Regions from separate parts of the Homo sapiens genome. Here region 2 is linked to region 1. Evidence: promoter capture Hi-C in 16 types of primary human blood cells and fetal thymus (Javierre and others, 2016). All regions are on one chromosome and are shown on one strand. The core of a region is centred on a gene start or on the middle of the fragment in contact, and the rest is flanking DNA. Distances in the headings are between cores, read along the strand shown. Region 1 holds the start of SMIM12 (small integral membrane protein 12). Region 2 overlaps ZMYM6 (zinc finger MYM-type containing 6).

Region 1 (7,427 bases), core at 3,623-6,122:
TTCCTGGGAATCTGTGCCTCCAGGGTTCAGTGCAACCGCACTAGTAAAGCAGTTTCCAGGGCTCCTTGGCACCCTTTAATACCAATGTTATCCTGCTCTAAAATGCCTGTACTTGCCTAACTCCTAAGAAGACCCCCAAATACCACCTGGATGATAAGATTCGATCATTATGGTTCTCAGATACCACTTTAATCAGGTTTTTCACTATACAGTGATGGGGGTAGAAGATGGTGACTGTTTTCAAGCAAATTCACGAGGCACATGTTCGTCCCTGCCCCAAAGTGAACAGTCTGGGCTTCCCAGAACAGAAAAGTGCTTTCCTTCCTGGGGGAATCCCATTCCTGAGCTGACAAGACAGATTTCAGTAAGAATGAGCACAAAGGATAGGGCAAAATAGTGAAGGGAGCCAGGTGCATATTTGAATTCTTTCCAGTGCAGACTGGAACTAGACATGCAGGTATCCCTCCTAAAGGCAACGCCCAAATCCCAGCCATTCCCACTAGAGGCCAAACCGCCTGCCCACAGAGATTGACAGCCAATGTTCATCTCATAACTCTCCTCCCAGCAGTGCACCAGTAAACTCAGATGCCTGAGTGCTTGTGGCCACCACACAACAGATGCGGCCTTCCTCTTCACTGGCCCCTCGGCTGCTGCTGGGTCTGCCTGGCCATCAAGGAGCAGCCAGTATTTGTGTGGCTGTGTGGTGTGGGAAGGGCCAGAATAAGCAACAAAGCCAATTAGATGTGGGTTCTGGGGCTCTGTCAACATGGTAGCAGGACAAGTCACCACCCACAGTAGGACCATAGGGCCCTGTGTCCTCCATTAATTCTTCTCTGGGCGGTTTCTGTTCAGCACAGCTTTCGGGGCAAATTCTAGCTTGTCCTTAAGGCTCACCACCTGCGTGTGGTCCTTGCCTAGAAGCTCATCCAGCTTGCGATCCTCCCGGCGCTCTGAGATGCTCTTTTCCTCCTCCACGGGCTGGGGGTCCTTTCCCCTGATGAACCATTCCAGGTGGTAACCCACAGCCCCGACCACGAAGGCAACAGGGAATGTGACATAAGGAGCATAGGTACGAACCACGGTCCAAAACACAGGCCACATGACATCTGCGGAAAAGCACAAGGCAGCATTAGAGAACCCAGCATCATCTCCCACCAAATAAGAGCAACCCACTAGAGCTCTCCACTTACCAGGCAGCCTGGCACAATTTTTTTTTTTTTTTGAGACGGAGTCTTGCTCTGTCGCCCAGGCTGGAGTGCAGTGGCACGATCTCAGCTCACCGCACCCTCCACCTCCCAGGTTCAAGCAATTATCTGCCTCAGCCTCCCAAGTAGCTGGGATTACAGCTAATTTCTGTATTTTTTTAGTAGAGACAGGGTTTCACCATGTTGGTCAGGCTGGTCTTGAACTCCTGACCTCGTGATTCACCCACCTCAGCCTCCCAAAGTGCTGGAATTACAGGCGTGAGCCACCACACCTGGCCAGCCTGGCACAATTTACTGAGCACCCACCCCCGTGCAGAGCAATGCGAGAGGTGGATCCCTGAAATAATCTAGGAAATTTCAAAAGATTCCATTGTTAGGGAAGAAGGAAGGATCTCCATTTTACGGACCGTACTCTTTGACAAGTGTGCACCAATATATGACAATGTTCCCCACAAGGGGACCTCTGAGCCTTACCTAATAGAGCTTCAAGCCTATTGTTGACCCCAGGACCTAGTCTGCCAACATTTCAAGAAGGGAAAAAGATGCCTTTCTCTGCTCTATGAAATTTCTCCATGAGCACAGCCGGCCACCTTTTCCCCATGAAACACAATCTACGATGAATCTCCTGGTTTCACAATATGAAAAGTCGTTCCTTTTCCTCATGTAAAGCATAAGGAGCATATTTAAACAGTCAAATACATAATGCATTACCTAATTATTCTGGATTTTAGGTAAATAGATAATGGTTTTATCCTGTTCTGAACCTGGCTTTTCTAACAATGGAACAAACCTATACTTTACAAATCTGCTGACTAAACCATTTTCAAAATATCCTATCTTGGCTAAAGACGGTGGCTCACACCTGTAATTCCAGAACTTTGGGAGGCTTGTAATCCCCATTACTCAGGAGGCTGAGGCAGGAGAATCACTTGAACCTGGGAGGCGGAGGTTGCAGTGAGCTAAGATCAAGCCACTGCACTCCAGCCTGGGCGGCAGAACGAAACTCCGTCTCAAGAAAAAAAAAAAAATCCTATCTTCAACCAAACCCATACCTTCATATTTACATAAAAAGCTCCTGAAAATATCACAAATCATTATACATACTCTGGATACCGCAGAACCTGAAGATTTTCTGTGAAAAATCACTGTACAAGCCCGGGGGGTGGGGTGGGGTGGGGTGGGGCGGGGAGCGGAGTGGAATGGCCTCAGGGCCTCCTGAATTGAAGTAGGGCAATACCAAAGTAATGTAAAAACACACAAATTGGATCACTCTAATGGCCAATTCCATCTCAAATGATTATTACCATTATCAATTATCAAAGATCATTCACAGTTATAATAACACAGCTACCATTTATTGAGCACTTACATGCCAGGCCTTGGGCTAGGTGCTTCATATACACTCACTCTCTTAATCCTCATGTCCACCACGTGAGGTAGATACATAACCCACTATCAGAGGGTTAAGAGACTTGCCCAAAAGTATCCACTAAAAGATCTTTCTGTTTATGCCCCTGTAGGTATTTCTCCAACACTACTATCTCTGATCTAAAGTGAACAATCGAAACCTCACCAAGGATAAGATGATTCTCCCCCTCTCTCTTTGGTTCCAATTCTCTTTGAAGGAATCCCAATGTTCTCTAGACGTAACACTATAAGGCAGCGGTCCCCAATCTATATTTGGCACCAGGGACCAGTTTCGTGGAAGACAATTTTTCCACAGATGGGGGTTGGAGAGGGATGGTTTCGGGATGAAACTGTTCCAGCTCAGATCATCAGGCATTAGATTCTCATAAGGGGCACACAACGTAGATCCCTCACATGCGCAGTTCACAATAGAGTTTGCACTCCTGTGAGAATCTAATGCCGCTGCTGATCTATCAGAAGGTGGAGCTCAGGCGGTAATGCTTGCCAGCTTGCCCACCGCTCACCTCCTGCTGTGCAGCCCAGTTTCTAATGGGCTGAAGACCACCACTGGTCTGTGGCCCAGGGGGTTAAGGACCCCTGCAATAAGGCAGCATCATGAAATTTAAAAAAAAAAAAAAAATTGCAGCATCTCCAAGACTCCCCCGCTTATTGTCTCAGCACCAGGCACTATGATGACAATTTACACACTAATCATCATTTGATCCTCATAACACCTCTATGATGTAGGAATTATTAGCCCAGACTCTTGTGAAGGCCACAAAGGCTCACAGACATTATGTTAACTTATCCAAGATCACTAGAAGTGATAGAGCCACTGATTTTGAACCCAGGCCTCTCCAATTTCAAAGCCTACACTCTTTCTAGTGGGAAGAACACACTGCAGAGGTATACGGTTTCTGTCCAAACCCTGGACTTAGGGAGAGCTTCCTACAGTTTTTTCCCATCAGCCTGGCATTTCATTACCTAGAAGAGCTTTCCTTTTCCCAAACTCTGAGATTGTACTCAGGGATTTATGAAATTCAGAGACATAGTAATAGTTAAAAGAGGCACCTCTGAAGAATCCCAAACCTAATACTTCTCCATTTTACTTCCACCTTTAAAGCAAGTCCTCTGTATAAGTAAATGCTTCCCTAAATAGCAACTGTCCGTTCAGATTTCCAAACCTGTCTTAAAACATATCGCGCATGAGTTCACAACTATCTCTCACATGCAGCATAAAGTCTCTCGCTACCGTCCTGCTCACATTCTAATCATTCCCAAATAAGTCAATTCATTCCTTTATTCGACACTTATAACCACTTACTCTGTGTCAGGCACGATGCTGGCTTACCCTGTCTGCGTTTCTCAAGACACTTTAAGCTCCAAAAGGCTAAGAACCGTGTCTGTCTGGCCCAATTATGCCCTATCCATCCAGGCACCTCTCCTACCCTGCCTGGCAGAGTGCCCAAAAAAGGTCTGCTGAACGAATGAATGACAGCCCAAACTCCCTAGTGTAAAATCACAACATCCTCCACCCACTCTCCCCCAAAAGGTGGCAGGAGCATAACAGATGCCTTTGCTGATTACAAAAACCTAAAGACTCCATCATAGTCGTCCCCAGGCAGGGTATCACAATGAAAGAGGCAAAAGTGTCTGAAAAACACTGTGACGCATATTTCCAGCCCGGCATGGAGGACGTCTGCCAAAAGCATCCGGTAAAGGTCAACTGGGCTGCTGGGAAACCTGCCCCAGTGCGAGGGCCCGGAGGCCCAACGAGGCCAGAAGCCGTAGTCCCAAATTCAAGAACTACTAACAAGGACACAGGAGGCCTGAGAAGGCGGAAGAATTAGCCCTGACAGTCACTAGAGCGCAGTCCAGGAATGGGAGCGCAAGTAAGGCGAAGGTCCATCCAAATGGCTACCCTTCTCCCTTCTGTGAGTCTCCCGGTCCCCTGTCCCTAGCCCACCTCATTCATGGCCTCATCAACGTCCGTCCTCATTGAGGTGCCGAGAAGCCCTGTCTGCGGAGGGCTACCTGGGCTCCCAGACTTGGCACCAGAACACCCGCCAGAGAGGGGAGCTGGCAGATCTGGCCGGGACCGGGGTGGACCCTAGCGATCACTCCTCCCGTAACTCAGAGGTTACTGGCCTGGGCTGACCCGACCTGCTCGCCGGGACCGCGCGCTCACCTGCGGCCCAGCCCACACTCCCCAGTGCGGCCCCCGCTCTCCGCCCGCTCGCCGGGAGCACGGAAGTCGCCGCACCCAGCGGCCCGCGGGACCTTGCCCTGTGACCCTGCCCACTGGCCGCCGGCTCTCTCGGAGCGCAGGGATTGGCTGAACTTCAGCCAAAGGACGGAAGGAAGCTAGGCGTCCGCAACTGGGCCCCACTGCGCTGAAATGGACGTCGCGCCCTCTGTTGGCCGGGAGGTTTCTCAGTGATGTCGCCACGTGTTTTCTGCGTGGAAAAAGTGAAAGATCATCCAGTCATTTTTTTCAACTGATGTTTATTAGGCGTCTTCTAAGACCTAGGTCTGGGCACGCAAAAACAAAAGACATGATCCCTGACCTCAAGAAGCTCTTCTTAGAAGAGTATATTTTAGTGCTTTAAGACCTCTTGGGATCCGGGCTAGCTTTCTAGTGACCTTGGGAACATTATTAACCTGTCTGAGCCTCCCTTCCCCTTCTGTGTAGAGGTAATAACACCCATTTCGCAAGGATGGTGTGAGGGTTGGAAGAGATAATATTTGTAAAGTACTGTGGCAGGCACACAGCCAGCAGGGAAATAAATGTGGCTATTGTTAGTGTAAAAATAATTCAAATATAGTAAAACCTAAGTCTTACATGACCTCTTGGGTACAAGTATTCACTTCCTCCTCTGTGTCCCCACTGTACCCTATACAGACATCAATTTTATCATATACAGAAAAGTCCCAAAGCTCAAGCTTGTTAATGCTCCCACAAGGCCCTTCCCACCCTCATCCCACTAATCTCAGCCTGCATATTTATTTTGCTCGCACATACTAAACCCGGCAGACCACACTGTTTCACACCTCAGTGCCTTATTGATGCTTTTTCATCTACCTTCCCACCTTTTTTGTTGTTGTTGTTCAATTTCACTCTTGTTGCCTGGGCTGGAGTGCAATGGCGTGATCTCGGCTCACCGCAACCTCCGCCTCCCAGGTTCAAGTGATTCCCCTGCCTCAGCCTCCTGAGTAGCTGGGATCACAGGCATGCACCACCACGCCCGGCTAATTTTGTATTTTTAATAGAGAAGGGGTTTCTCCATGTTGGGGAAGCTGGTCTCGAACTCCCGACCTCAGGTGATCTGCCCGCATCGGCCTCCCAAAGTGCTGGGATTACAGGCGTGAGCCACTGCGCCTGGCCGCTTTTTTTTTTTTTTTTAACAGGACTCTCGCTCTGTTGCCCAGGCTAGAGTGCAGTGGCACAATCATAGCTCACTGCAGCCTCAACCTCCTGGGCTCAAGTGATCCTCCCACTTCAGCCTTCCGAGTAGCTGGGACCACAGATGCACACCACCAGGCCTGGCTAATTTTTGTACTTTTTGTAGAGACTGGGTTTCACCATGTTGCTAGGGCTGGTCTCGAACTCCTGAGCTCAAGCAATCCGCCCGCCTCAGCCTCCCAAAGTGCTGGGATTACAGGCATGAGCCACCGTGCCTGGCCATGTAGTGCCCTTCCCACCTTTCTTTACTATGCCAGATTGTGCTCTGGCACAATTTTCAAGCTTAAGGGTCACCTCCAGAGGAAGCCTCATACATAGACTGCTTATCACATTAGACACCCTTCCTCTATTATCTCAAACAGCTCAAAGCTAAGCTCTGGCAGTGAAGATGGAGAAAAGGGAACAGTATTGTAGGGGCCAAGGTTCACTGAAAATCAACTGACAAAAGGCAGATTAATAGGAGAAAAGACATACAAAATTTTATTTTAACGTGCATAGCACGGGGCGGGGAGGCGAGGGGGTGGGAAGGGAAGGGTCACAGGAGAATGATTACCCAATAACCCAATGGGGTACAGAAGCGTATACACTCTTTTTCATAGGGGAAGGGGAGAGATGGAGAATATAGACAATTCTTCTGAGGGCAGCAAGTGATTCTTAGGGCGAAAAAATGGACAGAAATTAACTTGTAAATGATTCTCTTTAGAATTTGAATGAGCCCGAGAAACAGGCATCATCTTGTGAAAAATCCATCCAGGCGTAGTTGCCTTCCTCAGTCTTCTTTTCTGAGCTAGATGAGATTTCGGAGAGGGGAGGAAGGCAATTTTGTTTCTTTTGGAAAGACGTTTTCTCGATCAGATTAGGAAATTCTAGAGAGAGTGCCTCCCTATACTTGGGAGAGAAGGTTAGAGGGACCTTGATTCTGAGGCAGCTTCGAAGGCCTCTCAGCATGTCAAAGCGCCAGTCTTTGGGGTATCGCTTTCTGAGCCCCAACAGTACAAATAAATATTTAGGAGACCGTTGTTAGCAGAACCTGCTCACTAACTGAATATGTGGAGAGGAGAAGGGAACAGAACTGTCCAGAGTAACTGGCATTTGGTCAGCCAATCATGTGCTAGGCAATGGGGATGCAAAAATGACTGGGACCAACCTGCCTCCAGAGTTCTCTGACTAAAGAAACAGATGGGTCTACAAAATGTCAATAGAATGTAAGAAATGTGATGACAGAAGTATACACACGCAGCACAGAGGAGGATCTTCAGCCCAGCCAGGAAGATTCAGGGAAGGCTCCCTAGAGGAACCAAGCCTTGAGCTGAGTCTTGAGTCATGGCTAGCAGTTCCCTCAAGCAGAATTG
Region 2 (7,427 bases), core at 1,674-4,173, 130 kb after region 1:
AAATCTGAAGATAGCTCTGTTAGCTTTTCTTCTTCGAAGTCGGTGAGATTATTATTTTGGTGATTCATAAAAGGGTGAATTATCCACAAATTTCCTGAACGCAAGTCTTGTTCTGGTGGAAAACAGTCACTGAACACTTGAGAAAGTCCTTCCAGGTGCTCAAAAATAATCCTTGTGATGTCTGTCATATTTAAGCCTGATGAATTTGAGAATTCAGAAAATGAAGGGAACATGTCATAATCATTCTCTTGTGTGCGCTTCAACCACATTTTTAACTTTCTCTTAAATACATCAATTTTATTACACAAATTGAAGAAAGTAGTCAAAGTTCCTTGGAGACTTAAATTTAATTCATTTATAAGTGAAAATATATCTGATAAGTAGGCCAGCTTTCCAACCCATTCCTCATCATGAAAATACTTGGCCAAATCTGAATGCTTTTGACTTAAAAATATTTCAATCTCATGTCGTAATTCAAATAATCTTTTTAACATTCTCCCTCTTGATATCCAACGTACTTCAGCATGAAGCGGTAAACTCACATGCTCAGATCCCATCTCTTCACACAAAATTGTTAACATACGTGAATTTAATGCATTGCTCTTTATAAAACTTAAAATTTGTGCTGACTGCAAAAGAATTTTATGTAAACATGGAGACAACTTTTCTGCCACTAAACGTTCACGGTGAATAAAACAATGTGTAAATGCCGCTGTATTCATGGCAACTTCTTGAATTTTTGCTTTTAAACCAGAATACCTGCCAGTCATGCTTGCAGCCCCATCGGTACAGAGACCAACACAATGTTTCCAATTCAGAGATTTACTATCAATATATTTATTTATTAGTTCAAATATTTCAAAGCCAGTTATTTGAGTAGGCATTTCAATGCAAAATAATAATTCTTCTTTTACATCACGACAATCATAATCAATGAAACGAATATAGCACAAAAGAAGTGTGATATTTGAGATTTCTGATGACTCATCTATCTGAAGGGCAAACCACTTTGACTCTCTGACCTTTTGAATCAGCTGGTCTTCAATGTCTGCAGATAGTTCATCAATCCTGTGTTGAATTGTAACATTAGAAAGTGGAATAGTTTTCATTTTGTCTCCAGCACTTGAACCCAAAACTTCTGAACACATTTCTACTAAATATGGTTTAATTAATTCTTCAGCAATGGAGAATGGCTTCTTGCTTGCAGCAGTTTGGAAAGCAATTAAATAAGAAGCTTTCACAAGTGACTTTTCAACTAGTAAACACTTTTTTAAAGAACTATTTTGACATTCCATTTCTAAAGATTTTTGTTCAAAAAAATCTACTGGTTTGTTTTCTAATTCTGAATGTTTTGTCTTCAAATGATGAGAAAGATTTGCTGGCTTCATGTTTTCACTGGATAAGATCTCTCCACAAATGACACACTGTGGCCTTGGTGAACTTTCTTTTGATCCAGGACAGATAATAAAACCAACTTTTAAATATTCTGTATCATAAGTCTGGAAAAAACCTAATCTTTTTTTCTTTGAAGGTGGAGAATCAAGTTCTGCATCATTTTTTTCATTAGGCATAGGTAAATCTGAATGAAATATTTGAATCACTGTTATTTTCAAGAACAAATAAGCAATGTTCTTTATGTATCTCCCCACATATTTAAAATTCATATTTTGTTACTATTTCTATTTATCAAAAGAATGCACTGGTAAAAGTTTAAGCACAAGTCATAATACTTCCAATGATGCTACTGAAAACTGAATTTCTCCTTTGCCCAAAGCTTGATCACTAGGTATAATAAAACTGTAGGATGTGGTACATGTACAAGTAATCCCAAGCACCCAATAGGTTATTGAAATTAGGGCTGAAGACCATGATACACATCAAATTAACAATAAACTTTTTGGCTGAGCAGGGTGGCTCACACCTATAATCCCAGTGCTTTGGGACACCAAGGTGGGTGGGTCACTTGAGCCCTGGAGTTAGAGACCAGCCCGGGCAACATGGCGAAACTCCATCTCTACATTAAAAAAAAAAAAAGAAGAAGAAAAAAAATTGGCTGGATGCAATGGCACACACCTATAGTCCCAGCTACTTGGGTAGCTAAAGCAAGAGGATTGCCTGAGCCCAGGAGGTTGAGCCTGCAGAGAGCCATGATCACACCACTGCACTCTTGAGACTACGTCTCAAAAAAAAACAAAAAGAATAAATTTTTTATTGGTGAGTGACACTGGTGTCAAAAAATTTTTTTAAAGAAAAAGAAAAAAAAGGCCAGGCATGGGGCTCACACCTGTAATCCCAGCACTTTGGGAGGCCAAGGCGGGCAGATCACCTGAGGTCAGGAGTTCGAGACCAGCCAGGCCAACGTGGTGAAACCCCGTCTCTACTAAAAACACAAAATTAGCCAGGCATGGTGGTACATGCCTATAATCTCAGCTACTTGAGAGGCTGAGGCAGGAGAATCGCTTGAACCCGGGAGGCGGAGGTTGCAATGTGCCGAGATCATGTCATTGCACTCCGGCCTGGGAGACAAGAGTGAAACTCCATCTCAAAAAAAAGAAAGAAAAGGAAGAAAAAGAGACAGAAAAATAATGTTTTACTTTCAAACAATCCAGAAAAAAAAAGAAAATAAATATTGCAAAAAGTTAACATTTCATTAATCTGGATGAAGAGTATACTAGTATTGACTGTACTGTATATTCAACCTTTCTGAATTTTGATACTCAGTGTCAGTGAGGTTGTAGAGAAATGGATCCTCCTGAACACTGCTGGTTGGAGCATACATTGATGTAACTTTTCAGGAGGGCAATTTAGGCAACAGGTATCAAAATACTTAAGAATAGATGATAGGCCGGCGCGGTGGCTCACGCTTGTAATCCCAGCACTTTGGGAGGCTGAGGCGGGCACATCATGAGGTCACGAGTTTGAGACCAGCGTTGCCAACACTGTGAAATCCCGTCTCTACTAAAAATACAAAAGAAAATTAGCTGGGCATGGTGGCAGGTGCCTGTAATCCCAGCTACTCAGGAGGCTGAGGTAGGAGAATCGCTTGAACCTGGCAGGTGGAGGTTGCAGTGAGCCGAGATCGCGCCACTACACTCTAGCCTGGGTGACAGAGATAGACTCTGTCTCAAAAACAAAAACAAACAAAAAAAAAGATGATAGTCTTTGAATCAACACTTCCACTGATTAGGATTTATCCTAAGGACATAATTAGGCAAGTGGACAAAGATCCATTAACATAGCTTAACCCAACATTGCTTATAATACAAATATCTAAATTTCCAATCTTAACGGAGTTGGTTATATTATATACACTGAAATCTATGTTAAGAATCTCATACCCAGGTAACAAATCTGCACATGTACCCCCGAATAAAATAAAATAAACATAATAAAATAAAAATTGGAAAAAAATAATCTCAATGTATATTTAAATTTATATTGTTGTGGAATAATGTTTCCAATGCAATGTCAAATGAAAAAGTAATTTCGATTGTTAGAAAACATTCGAGATTTATTCTTTTAAAAGAGACGGAGTTTCACTCTTGTTGCCCAGGTTGGAGCACAATGGCGCGATCTCAGCTCACCGCAACCTCTACCTCCCAGGTTCAAGCGATTCTCCTTCCTCAGCCTCCTGAGTGGCTGGGATTACAGTCCTGTGCCACCATGCCCAGCTAATTTTGTATTTTTAGTAGAGATGGGGTTTCACCATGTTGGTCAGGCTGGTCTCAAACTCCTGACCTCAGGTGATCCGCCCATGTTGGCTTGCCAAAGTGCTGGGATTATAGGCATGAGCCACCACGTCTGACCAACAATTCAATATTTAATCTAGAACTCAAAACATAAGCACACACACACACACAAACATACACACACACATACACACATATAGATGCCCACAGATCCTTTAGTACTCTCCATGTGTGAACGTGTATATAATATAAATTCAGGTACAAATAATATATTGTTTTAATAGGAATATAAAATAAATTTCCTGAGGAAGGAAAACAGGATTCTGCTTGACTTCTACCAAAATAAAGGTACCCTACATAAAAACTTACTACTTGTTGACAGACTAAGCTTTTAAATATAGTGTATTCTATGAAGTAAAATTATTATTAAAAACAAAAATCAGGCCAGGGGCGGTGGCTCATGCCTGTAATCCCAGCACTTTGGGAGGCCGAGGCAGGCAGATCACCTGAGGTCAGGAGTTCAAAACCAGCCTGGTCAAAGTGATGAAACCCCGTCTCTACTAAAAATACAAAAATTAGCCGGGCATGGTGGCAGGCACCTGTAATCCCAGCTGCTCAGGAGGCTGAGACAGGAGAATCGCTTGAACCCAGGAGGCAGAGGTTATAGGGAGCCAAGATCACGCTATTGCACTCCAGCCTGGGCAACAAGAGTGAAACTCCATCTCAAAAAAAACAAACAAACAAACAAAAAAAAACCCAGTGCTTTAGGCACAGTAGACTATTAAAGCAATTGAAAATCTAAGGGTAGTGGGATTAAAAGTAATACTTCACAACTTTTTCAAGTAAAGCTCAAACAATTTTCATCGTCACCAATACCTCAGATAAATTAATTGTACTGTTAGCAACTGACAACTGAATTCGCAGTATTTAAAAAAAAAAACAGGTTAAATCACTAATGCTTTTAACTAAAACTGTATGTTAGTAATTATAATAGCTTGTTATGATAGCTGGTTATTAGTGTTAATAATTATGAAAGCAATAAATTAAGTATTCAAAGCATGTGATCCAAGAAAAGGAATGTTTTCACATTTAAGACTCTGTCAATTATTTTCTTTTCCTTTCTTAAAAAACAAAAACAAACAAGCCAGAAAACAAGCTTTGTACATGGGAACGCACAAGGATACATACCTGTCTGACATTCTTTGTGCTGTGTATGTGGTTTGCAAGAAGTGGCCTTGGTCTGTGTGACGGGTTTGCATGATATGCCTTTGTTCTTTAAAAGCCTGGAAGGCTGGGAAGATTGGGAAGATGGAAATTTCATAGCATCTTCCTGTGTACTTTCCTAGTTAAAAGCAAATTCAGAAACCAAAGAAAGATTTTTTTTAGTACCTTATCACTGACTATAATTGCTATCAATTGAAAGTTCATATACATCAAGAGAAATATAATTCCTCTGAAAGAGTGGTTGCAATAAAAAAGTCACCTTGGAAAATACACACAGATTCCTACTTCTCCCAATCAGTATTAGTTTAATTTACTGATTTTAAAAAACATTTATAAATATAAATATAAAAATATATTTATAAACTATAAATATAAAAATATATTTATAAACTATAAATATAAAAATATATTTGTAAATATAAAAATAAAAATATACTTATAAACTATAAAAATAAAAATATACTTATAAACTATAAATATAAAAATATACTTATAAACTATAAATATAAAAATATACTTATAAACTATAAATATAAAAATATACTTATAAACTATAAATATAAAAATATACTTATAAACTATAAATATAAAAATATATTTATAAACTATAAATATAAAAATTATACATATAATATATATTTTTAAAATAAGTATGATCAAAACAATGAAAACAATTGTTAATCTTGCTGATTAGGACAACTGGCTACTCAGAAAAATTAGATCCAACCTCAGACCATACACAAAAATATATTCCACATCAATTAAAGATCTCAGGGAAAAAAAAAGAACTAAAGTCACTAGAGAACTTTCAAATAAACAGATCACAAAGTATTCTTTTCTTTTTTCTTTTTTTTTTTTTTGAGACGGAGTCTCACTCTGTCACTCAGGCTGGAGTACAGTGACACAATCTCAGCTCACTGCAACCTTCGCCTCCCAGGTTCAAGCAGTTCTTGTGCCTCAGCCTCCTGAGTAGCTGGGACCACAGGCGTGCGCCACCACGCCTGGCTAATTTTTTATATTTTTAGTAGAGATGGTGTTTCACCATGTTGGCCAGGCTGGTCTCAAACTCCTGACCTCGTGATCCGCCCACCTCGGCCTCCCAAAGTGCTGGGATTACAGGCGTGAGCCACCACTCCCAGCTGGGATCACAAAGTATTCTTAAATAAAACACAAAAGAGTAAATCAAAGTAGAAAAGACTGATACATTTGACTACCTCAAAATTTAAAACTGCTCAGATGATCCAGGATAATCTCCCTATTTTAAGGTTAGCTGATTAGGAACCCTAATGCCACTTGCTACCTTAATTCACCTTTGCCATGTAATGTAACATATTCACAGATTCTGTGGACAAGGACATGGACATCTTTGGGGGGCTACTATTCTGCCTATCATAATAAAGCTCTTAAAAAGTAAATTAATTTTTTTTTTTTTGAGACGGAGTCTCGCTCTGTCACCCAGGCTGGAATGCAGTGGCATGATCTCAGCTCACTGCAACCTCTGCCTCCTGGATTCATGCCATTCTCCTGCCTCAGCCTCCTGAGTAGCTGGGACTACAAGCACCCGCCACCACGCCCGGCTAATTTTTTTTGCATTTTTAGTAGAGATGGGATTTCACCGTGTTAGCCAGGATGGTCTCAATCTCCTGACCTCGTGATCCACCCACCTTGGCCTCCCAAAGTGCTGGGACTACAGGCGTAAGCCACCGTGCCCGGCCAAAAAGTAAAGTTTTTTAATCCAAAAAAAAAAAAAACTTCTGTAAACAAAGGTCTTTATAAAACAAAGTTATAGGGCAAACAACAGAGTGGAGGAATGTACTTAAAACATGTGTATTCACTCAATATTTATTTCCTGAATGTTTACTACAAGCCAGGCACTGTTCTAAGCCGTGGAGATACCGCAGAAAACAAGACAAAGTTCTGCTCATATGAGCCTTACATTCTAGAGGAAGACACAAAAAATAAACAAGTAAAACAAATAATATATAATTCTAGGTAGTGATAAGTGCGATGAAGAAAATAAAGCAGCGTACAGGAATGGAGAGTGATGGCATGGAGGAGGGGCAATTCTGAAGTAAACATCTGAGCAGAGACCTTTTGAATTATTCAAAAGAGTAAGCCATGCAAAGGTCTAAGGTCTGAAGAGTCCAGGCAGGCAGACTATAGGTGCAAAAACCCTGAAGTGGGAGAAAGCTTGGCATGCTTTAGGAACATCAACAAGAACAAGGCTGAAAGACAGTAAGCAAGGGGAGAATGATACATTTGGAGAGGTAGGCAGAAACTAAATTGTATAGGATCTGGAAGGTCTCAGTCAAAAACAAAATTAGGATTGTATTTTAAATGTGATGGGAAGCCATTGGAGGTTATATTTAAATTTAATTTAAACAAAAGTAATACATGAACTCAGTGCAAAATTCAAAATGTACAGAAGTATTGCGTTGGTACAAAAATAATTGTGGTTTTTGCAATTAAAGTAATATACACATGAATGACTGCCGTCCACCCAGACTCAACCTT

The links. Contacts are between HindIII fragments. The CHiCAGO score rates a contact against its expected background, and 5 or more counts as called.
Region 2: a fragment that was not itself captured here is called in contact with the fragment with the promoter of SMIM12 in region 1 in 1 of 17 cell types (activated CD4 T cells); the score reaches 5.5 in activated CD4 T cells.

Annotation. Positions count from the first base shown.
Region 1 is chr1:34,854,877-34,862,303 of GRCh38, forward strand. SMIM12 (small integral membrane protein 12) reads right to left here and starts at 4,873. Exons shown (of 2, transcript NM_138428.6): 1 at 4,801-4,873; 2 at 1-1,106. The coding sequence starts at 1,101. The coding sequence ends at 823. RefSeq lists a silencer at 4,695-4,824. The HindIII fragment of the contact is 6,874 bases long and covers 1-5,553 here.
Region 2 is chr1:34,987,357-34,994,783 of GRCh38, forward strand. It overlaps ZMYM6 (zinc finger MYM-type containing 6), which reads right to left. Exons shown (of 16, transcript NM_007167.4): 15 at 4,878-5,031; 16 at 1-1,579. Among named protein-coding and RNA genes, the nearest start is that of TMEM35B, 5.7 kb to the left of the region's middle. The HindIII fragment of the contact is 2,303 bases long and covers 1,773-4,075 here.